Regions from separate parts of the Homo sapiens genome. Here regions 1 and 2 are each linked to region 3. Evidence: promoter capture Hi-C in human tissues and cell types (Jung and others, 2019). All regions are on one chromosome and are shown on one strand. Each heading gives the region's core, a stretch centred on a gene start or on the middle of the fragment in contact. The rest is flanking DNA. Distances are from core to core; before and after follow the strand shown. Region 1 holds the start of BACE1 (beta-secretase 1). Region 2 holds the start of TMPRSS4 (transmembrane serine protease 4). Region 3 has its middle 13 kb from the start of DSCAML1.

Evidence for each region. The method cuts DNA at HindIII sites, captures the fragments that hold promoters and counts their contacts. A contact is called where the count stands out against the background at its distance.
Region 1: a contact is called between the fragment with the promoter of BACE1 here and a fragment that was not itself captured in region 3, in 1 of the 25 tissues and cell types used here (dorsolateral prefrontal cortex).
Region 2: a contact is called between the fragment with the promoter of TMPRSS4 here and a fragment that was not itself captured in region 3, in 4 of the 25 tissues and cell types used here (dorsolateral prefrontal cortex, lymphoblastoid cells, spleen and 1 more).

The regions. Positions count from the first base shown.
Region 1 is chr11:117,314,790-117,317,908 of GRCh38, forward strand. It overlaps BACE1 (beta-secretase 1), which reads right to left and starts at 1,467. Exons shown (of 9, transcript NM_012104.6): 1 at 746-1,467. The coding sequence starts at 1,006. RefSeq lists an enhancer at 1-377 and silencers at 906-1,015, 1,106-1,195. The HindIII fragment of the contact is 10,772 bases long and covers 1-3,119 here.
Region 2 is chr11:118,075,651-118,078,643 of GRCh38, forward strand. TMPRSS4 (transmembrane serine protease 4) reads left to right here and starts at 1,428. Exons shown (of 13, transcript NM_019894.4): 1 at 1,428-1,655. The coding sequence starts at 1,653. All of the region lies in intron 1 of SMIM35 (small integral membrane protein 35), which reads right to left. RefSeq lists an enhancer at 1,283-1,878. The HindIII fragment of the contact is 5,819 bases long and covers 1-2,993 here.
Region 3 is chr11:117,808,880-117,811,928 of GRCh38, forward strand. It overlaps a transcript of DSCAML1 not described here. Among named protein-coding and RNA genes, the nearest start is that of DSCAML1, 13 kb to the left of the region's middle. RefSeq lists enhancers at 527-596, 647-696. The HindIII fragment of the contact is 6,582 bases long and covers 1-3,049 here.

The DNA.
Region 1 (3,119 bases), core at 217-2,716, 490 kb before region 3:
CTCTCCCCCGCCATGGAAGGAGTCCCACTCTTAAAAGGGAGCTCTGGCTCCTTTCCTACCATTTGTTCTTTCACCAGGCTCAGTTCAGTTCCCCTCTGGCCTGGGGAGGTGTGGGGTGGGGGAGGGGCCGGAGTGTAGACCGCGAGAGGGAGAAGGGGAGGAGGAGGGGACGGCAGGAGCCTGTCCAGGGCTTCCGGGCGGAGTGCAGTCAGGGGGGCCTCGACAACCTCACTTTGCCGTACCAGTGGCAGCCCAGATGGTGGGAGCAAGGTGCTTATTCAACTGCTGCCAGGATTCCTTGGTCCTGGAGGTACTGGGAACAATGGTGGGAATCAGAGGAGGGGACAAGGTTGGGTGGCCAACCTCTAGAGTGGTGGGATTTGGGAGACTCGGACTGGGCCACTGTCAGAGGGGGCTGACACCTGTTATAGTGCCCCTGTGGCGGACCCTTCCTCCAGGTCAGGGTCCCCAGCTGATGTGTCTGTCTTGCCTCAAATCCTTCCAGACGGCGTATGTGTCAGATGAGGAGCAAGGGGAACTAGGCAGCCAGGGGAGACGAGGAGGGAATGGGGAGCTTGGGAACACTTCTGCCAACAACCACGTGACCCCCGGGGAATGGCTGGGGAGGGGTCCCTCCTGCTGTCCCCACCAGCCCATTTGAGCAGGGGCTAGCTTGAGGCATCCCCATCCTGTCTCCCCTCTGCTCATGCAGGCGGAGGGCTAAGGGCTGGCCTGACCACCTTACCGTCTGCGGGGGGCTGCCCACGGTCATCTCCACGTAGTAGCCCTGCCCCGACTTGCCCCTCAGGTTGTCCACCATCTCCACAAAGCTGCCCCTCCGGCCGGGCTCCTCGGGCTCTTCGTCGGTCTCCCGGGGCAGCCGCAGCCCCAGGGGGGCGCCCCCCAGGCCGCTGCGCAGGGGCAGCCGGATGCCGTGCTGGGTGCCGTGGGCAGGCAGCACTCCCGCGCCCATCCACAGCAGGAGCCAGGGCAGGGCTTGGGCCATGGTGGGCCCCGGCCTTCGGGCCCTCTGGGCTCGCACTGGCCCACGTCCGTCCCTGGCGCCTGCCCCCAAGTCTGGGTGGTGCTGGTGGCTTCTCAGGAGAGGGAGCTTGGGGGCATCAGGACGCCAGGGCCTGCAGGGCCCTGGGCCAGCCCCCGGGTCCGGGCTGTGGAGAGCGGTCAGGGGAGATCCGCAGAGCACGGGAGCAGGGGAGAGGCTGGGATCCGGAGCCCGCTACATCGGCACGGCGGCGGCCAGCCTGGGCAGCGGGCGCGGGCTCCCGGCGGGGCTGGGAGGGGCGGGCATGGCGGGCCGGTGGCGGCTTCCCTGGTCCCCCCGGCGGGCGGCGGCGCGGGCAGGGGCAAGGGCTCCGGGCTCCTGCGGCTGCGTTGGCTGCTCAGGCCACCATAATCCAGCTCGCGGCTCGCAGCTCCCGGGCGGGCTGGGGAGGCGGAAAGACTTGTGGCGGCGGCTGTCAAAGCCAAAAGGTTTTCGCTTTTCCCTGGGATCGCTGGGAAGTGTAGTCTTCCCATGGCAGGCAATCCGGCTTCCGGGGCTGGAGAGGGGTCTGGGATGCCCTCTGCCGAGGTGGAGTCCGCCCTGCAAGGCCCTGGCGGGAAGGGCCAGACGGATGGAGAGGGGCACACCTCCCGTCTGTCAGTCTTTCTTTCAGCATGGAAGGAGCACCCACTGTATGCCAGGCACACTGCCAGGCGCTGGAGATACAGAGAGAAATAAACGGTGATTCTACACGGGACAGTTAAGTGATTCCTGCCGCGGTGGGGTTTCACACTATACGATGTGGCATTAAGGAGTAGGGATTTGGAGGGACATCTAGGGGATCTGGGAAGACTCAGTGGGAGAAGGTGGTATTTAATTTGAGCGTTTAAAAATGGGTAGGATTTTCACGAGCAGAGATTGAGGGAGCAGGATGAAAGGGGAGGAAGAGTTTTTCCAGGCTGCAAACCAGCGGAGCAGGGTCCAAAAGGGGAAAGTGCAGTTGTCTTATTTTCTCCTGCGCCTGCGATCTGCGGGCAGGTAAGAGCCAGTGGGTCTTCTCCCATCTGAACCTGTTTGTGCCCTTGAGGCTCTACTTGAATCCTTATGGCTCCTCTGATTTTCTGCACCATCAGCCAGACTGAGGAGAAATGGCTGTTGATAGCTTTAAAGTGTTAACACTCCGAAAAGTATCTCTATATTAACTGGTAAGAGCTTAAAGCCTTGAACCAAAAGCGTTAGAGTTCTAATAGCTTAAAGGAGAAAAGCCGGTATGGTTTTAACAATATATTGTTTATCAAATGTGGAAAGCCATTGATAAAATTCAGCAGTTACTCTGATTTAATTTTTTTAAAAAATGAAAGGGAATCTTCATTTTTCTTTTGAAAAGGAGACTTGCTCTGTCACCCAGGCTGGAGTGCAGTGGCATGGTCTCAAGTCTGCAACCTCCGCCTCCCGGGTTCAAGCAGTTCTCATGCCTCAGCCTCTGAGTAGCTGGGATTACAAGCATGCGCCACCATACCCAGCTAATTTTTGTATTTTTAGTAGAGATGGGATTTCACCATGTTGGCCAGGCTGGTCTCGAACTCCTGGCCTCAAGTGATCCGCCCACGTCGGCCTCCCAAAATGCTGGGATTATAGGCATGGACCACTGTACCCAGCCAGGAAACTTTTTAAACAAGATAACGACAACAACAACAAATGTAGTAATAACAGGCTACGTTACTCCCATTAAAGGCAGGCTTTGGAAAGGAAAGATCATTATCTCTACTCTTTTTTTTTTTTTTTTTGAGAAGGCGTCTCGCTTTGTCGCCCAGGCTGGAGTGCAGTGGTGGGATCTCAGCTCACTGCAAGCTCTGCCTCCCGGGTTCAGGCTATTCTCCTGCCTCAGCCTCCCGAATAGCTGGGACTACAGGCGCCTGCAACCACGCCCCGCTAATTTTTTGTATTTTTAGTAGAGACGGGGTTTCACCGTGTTAGCCAAGATGGTCTCGATCTCCTGACCTCGTGATCCTCCCGCCTCGGCCTCCCAAAGTGCTGGGATTACAGGCGTGAGCCACCGCGCCCGGCCGATCATTATCTCTACTCTTATCCTACACGGTTCAGACCGGTCTGATTG
Region 2 (2,993 bases), core at 178-2,677, 270 kb after region 3:
AGGGCTGATACACAGAAGCACGTTATCAACAGAAGGACAAATACACACGTCTAACCCAGGCTGGTCTCCTGGGAGGGTCAGGTCTGAGAAATGGAAGGAGATCTGGATTCATATGGAACCAGACACTAATTCATTATGTGACTTTGGGTCATTGACTTTGCCTCTCTGGAATTTAGTTTTGTCGCCCACAGAATGGGGGAACAATGTGGACAATTATCCAAGTCTCTCCCAGCAAAATATCTGTGGCTGTAAGGTTTCACCTTGCACATCCCCTGGCCAGGGGGCAGCTCCAGCTATCAGGATGTGGCAGAACGTGAATCAGAAATGATCCTGTGGGGCTGGGTGCGGTGGCTCACGCCATAATCACAGCACTTTGGGAGGCTGAGGCAGGTGGATCAGTTGAAGCCAGGTGTTTGAGACCAGCCTGGCCAACATGGCAAAACCCCATCTCTACTAAAAATACAAATTAGCCAGGCATGGTGGCGCACAACACCTGTAATCCCAGCAGCTACTTGGGAGGCTGAGGCAGGAGAATCACTTGAACCTGGGAGGTGGAGGTTGCAGTGAGCCAAGATCGCGCCACTGCACTCCAGCCTGGGCAACAGAGACTCTGTCTCAAAATAAAATAAAATACAAAAACACAAAACTTAGCTGGGTGTGGTGGCAGGTGGCTGTAGTCCCAGCTACTCGAGAGGCTGGAGCACGAGAATTGCTTGAACCTAGGAGGCGGAGGTTGCAGTGAGCTGAGATTGCGCCCCTGCACTCCAGCCTGGGGGACAGAGAGAGACCCTGTCTTAAAAAAAGAAAAGAAAAAAAGAAAGAAAGAAAGAAGGAAATGACTCCGTGGACGAGGAGACGTGGGCTCTAGCCAGAGCACCAATAGTGATTTTCAGAATATTGAACGGCTGCTGAGGCAGGGGCAGGAAGCACTAGTACATTGGCTCTGTGCAGGACAGCTTCACTTCTGGGATCCAGGGAAAGGGGGTACATCTTACCTCCCTAAGAGAAGAAACTCCCTCCTTCTCTGTGGACTTTCCAATCCTATTGCTCCACACCTGGCAATGATCTCTTTGTACTGAGCTGCAAACCCTGTCGCCCAACCCCCAGACCACTCCAACTTCCCACAACCCCAAACCAAAGCACCCACACAGTGAGAAGTCATGCACCTAGAAGGTAGGGGGAGGGGGGGCGGAAACTTCTGGCATCACCCTCAGCCAACACCCAGTTGGGTGGAAGTCATTCAGGCGGGAAGGCTTTTGTTACGCCTTAGGTGTGTCACCTGTTCTGAGGCCGAAGGTCCCATGAATGACTTCAGGTGTTGTTCCAGCCCCTAAGATAGGTGTCAGGTTACAAGACACATAATCATTCCAGTTTGGCAACTTCACTTGTAGGGCTGTTTTAATCAAGCTGCCCAAAGTCCCCCAATCACTCCTGGAATACACAGAGAGAGGCAGCAGCTTGCTCAGCGGACAAGGATGCTGGGCGTGAGGGACCAAGGCCTGCCCTGCACTCGGGCCTCCTCCAGCCAGTGCTGACCAGGGACTTCTGACCTGCTGGCCAGCCAGGACCTGTGTGGGGAGGCCCTCCTGCTGCCTTGGGGTGACAATCTCAGCTCCAGGCTACAGGGAGACCGGGAGGATCACAGAGCCAGCATGGTGAGTGTGGGGCCCTCTGCTCCCAAGACACAGGAAGGGTGGGTCTCCCCATGTAAGGCCCTTCAAGCAGCCTGAGCATCCATCAGCTGAGAATTCTGTGACACCTTCTAGGTTAAAAAAAGAGGCCACACCCAAATCCCCTCACACCCCAGCCCGGTACACGTCTCATACCCACCTGCCTTCCTCTCTTCCTCCATTGCCATGGTCCTTGGACCAGCTCACCTAAGAAGCTGAGCACAGAGCCAGGGCTGTCCTTCCCGACTATTCTTTCCTGAATCCTGCATGTTCTTTTGCCCAATGTCTCCAGGTCTGTTGGTTAGAGGTTGGCACTATTTTTCCAAGGCAGGGGGCTGTTCTGATGCCACGGTTGCCCTCTGCCACTCCCTGGGGAAACTGATTCCTTTTCTTTTTAAAGAAAAGTGTAGACTGGGTGCAGTGGCTCACGCCTGTAGTCCCAGCACTTTGCGAGGCTGAGGCAGACAGATCTCTCGAGGTCAGGAGTTTGAGACCAGCCTGGCCAGTATGGTGAAACCCCATCCGTACTAAAAATACAAAAAATTAGCCAGGCGTGGTGGCAGGTGCCTGTAATCCCAGCTACTTGGGAGGCTGAGGCAGGAGAATCGCTTGAACTTGGGAGGCGGAGGTTGTGGTGAGCCAAGATTGTGCCATTGCACTCCAACCTGGGCAACAAGAGTGAAACTCCGTCTCAAAAAAAAAAAAAAAAAAAAAAAAAAAAAAAGAAAGAAGGAAAAGAAAACAGTGCAGAGATGCCTCCAAACAATCTAGGGTGTTTGTGGTCATCTTTTACTTGGTCTCTTTTCATGCCCTCACCCTCTCTCCTCCTCCTCTGAATACCTGGAGCGTCTTCGCTGTCTTGGGGCAAAGAGAATCAACCCTATCTTTCAAGGAGGACAGCTGAGGGCCAGGGAGGGGAAGAGATAATAACTGGGTCTGAGGAGGAACCCAGGGGTCTTCCTTCTCCAGTCCTTGGCCAAGAGGCAGCAATTGCCCAGCCACCAAAGTGAAAGGGAAGGGAAGAGAGGAAAGGAGAAGCCACTGTCCAAGGGGGAAGGGTGTGACCTGCAGGGGCCCCTCGAGTGATTGTCTCCTATTCCCAACCTGAGCACTTCCCACGACACTCTTCTGAAAATTCTGGCAAGAACAATTCTTAGTGCGGTTGTAGCTGATGATCAGAAAGGGGAAGGGGCTTCCCTTTGAGCCAGGATCAAAGCACAAGCTTCCTGCTTTCCCATCCAAGGAGGCGCCCCAAAGTTTGGCCTGTGTGCAGAGACGCTGTATCCCCTGGGGCTCCCAGGAGAGGAGAGCAGCTGTGGAGTC
Region 3 (3,049 bases), core at 362-2,861:
TCTCGTTCAATCTCTTTAATGAGTTGGATATCACAAACCCCATCTCACAGATGAGAAAACTGAGGCTCCGAGACACTAAAGGACTTCCCCAGGGCTGCCCAGGTGGTCAGTGACCGAGCCAAGCTCACGCCCACGCCTGTCTACCCTGCTCTAGCAGCTCCGTCACTGCCCCGCCCCTGCTTCATATCATTTCCACTGCGAAGCTTGAGAGGAGGAAAAATCCATCCAGAGAGAATGAATCTTCCAGATCCGTTGGGAATGCCTCAGATTTAGGAGAGGCGACCTCAGGAGTTTGCCCTGAGACCCCAGGCTCAGGAGAAGTCTTGCCTCATTTGGCGAAGGGGCTCAGTGCAGACCTCCAGGGTGGGGCAGGTCCTGGGAGGCCAGCTGCCGCGTCTGCACTCCTGGAAAGTGCAGTGTGGGAAGGGTGGGAGCTGTGGGAAGGGAGGGGAGCCCTCCTCCCCGCTGTGCCTGACTCCTTGGGCGTGGCTCTGATGGCTGGAGAGGACAACCCGCCTCCCTGGCCCACTACTGGATGTGTCTCTGCGGTCCTCCGCGGAAGGAAGCTCCAGGCCTCCGCACTGGGAACCTGGTGTCTGCCTCCCCCTAGTGCCACAGGACAGGATGGTGGCGCCGCAGGCTGCTGTGCAGTACAACATAGACGGCGGCCACTCAAATTCTCCACTACACAGGTCCTGCCCTTCACCCCAGTCATGTCTCGCAGTGAAGCCGGAGGCTGGGCTCACTCCCTGCCCCAGCCTGTGTCCTTGCCAGCCTCTAAGAACTACTGGAGGGGACCAATGGTGTCCTCCAAAACAGACCTCTGATTCTCAGCTGAGGAGGCTGAATCGCCGCGCAGCGCTCCAGATGCTAGGTCCACCCACGCAACCCTCCTGGGTTGCTCTGCTCCTCCCCAGTTCCAGCTCAACTAGCAACGCACAACACACACAAACTCACACAGTCACATACACACTCACACTCACTTACACATTCACATACTCTTACACACACACACCCACACACTCACACACACATTCACACATTCACACACACGCATATTCACATACACACATTCACACACTCACACATTCACACACACTCATACACACATTCACATACACACATTCCCACACTCACACATATTCAAATATTTTCACACACATTCACACTCACACACATTCACACACTCACTTACACATTCGCACACACATACACACATTCACATACATACATATTCACATTTCAATCTTGGCGCCACACTTCAATCTCTCCCTTCTCTTAATTTCAATTCCTTTCATTTTCTGATAGAGACAAAGGAGACACGTGGACCCAAAACTCCGTGGACCCAAACTCCGTGGACCCAAAACTCCGTGGACTCAAAACTCCAGCGCCCTCTGGGGGAGGGGCAAGTACCCCTCAACCCCTTCTCCTTCACCCTTAGTGGCAAGTCCCGCTTTTCTAGGGGGCAAGAACCCCCAATCCCTTATTTCCGCACCCCGACCTCTTATCTCTGTGTCCCAATCCCTTATTTCCGCACCCCGACCTCTTATCTCTGTGCCCCAATCCCTTATTTCCGTGCCCCAACCCTTTCTCTGCTTTTCTGGAGGGCAAGAAACCCCCACCCCCTTCTCCGTATCTCTACTCTTTTCTCTAGGCTTGCCTCCTTCACTATGGGCAAGCTTCCACCTTCCATTCCTCCTTCTTCTCCCTTAGCCTGTATCCTTAAGAACTTAAAACCTCTTCAACTCTCACCTGACCTAAAATCAAAGTGTCTTATTTTCTTCTGCAATGCCGCTTGACCCCAATACAAACTCGACAGTAGTTCCAAATAGCCGGAAAACAGCTCTTTCAATTTTTCCATCCTACAAGAGCTAAATAATTCTTGTCGTAAAATGGGCAAATGATCTGAGGTGCCTGACGTCCACGCATTCTTTTACACATCAGTCCCTTCCTAGTCTCTGTGCCCAGTGCAACTCGTCCCAAATCTTCCTTCTTTCCCTCCCGCCTGTCCCCTCAGTCCCAACCCCAAGCGTCGCTGAGTCTTTCTAATCTTCCTTTTCTACAGACCCATCTGACCTCTCCCCTCCTCGCCAGACCAAGCTAGGTCCCATTTCTTCCTCAGCCTCCGCTCCTCCACCCTGTAATCTTTTTATCGCCTCTCCTCCTCACACCCGGTCTGACTTACAGTTTCGTTCTGTGACTAGCCCTCCCCCACCTGCCCAGCAATTTACTCTTAAAAAGGTGGCTGGAGCTAAAGGCATAGTCAAGGTTAATGCTCCTTTTTCTTTATCCCAAATCAGATAGCGTTTAGGCTCTTTTTCATCAAATATAAAACCCCAGCCGAGTTCATGGCTCGTTCGGCAGCAACCCTGAGAAGCTTTACAGCCCTAGACCCTAAAAGGTCAAAAGGCCATCTTATTCTCAATATACATTTTATTACCCAATCTGCTCCCGACATTAAATAAAACTCCAAAAATTAGAATCTGGCCCTCAAACCCCACAACAGGACTTAATTAACCTCACCTTCAAGGTGTACAATAATAAAAAAAGTTGCAATTCCTTACCTCCACTGTGAGACAAACCCCAGCTACATCTCCAGCACACAAGAACTTCCAAACGCCTGAACTGCAGCGGCCAGGCGTTCCTCCAGAACCTCCTCCCCCAGGAGCTTACTACAAGTGCTAGAAATCTGGACACCAGGCCAAGGAATGCCTGCAGCCCAGGATTCCTCCTAAGCCGTGTCCCATCTGCGCGGGACCCCACTGGAAATCGGACTGTTCAACTCACCTGGCAGCCACTCCCAGAGCCCCTGGAACTCTGGCCCAAGGCTCCCTGACTGACTCCTTCTCGGCTTAGCAGCTGAAGACTGAGGCTGCCTGATTGCCTTGGAAGCCCCGTAGACCATCGCGGATGCCGAGCTTTAAGTAACTCTCACAGTGGAGTGTAAGTCCATCCCCTTCTTAATCAATACGGAGGCTACCCACTCCACATTACCTTCTTTTCAAAGGCCTGTTTCCCTTGCCTCCATAACTGCTGTGCGTATTGACAG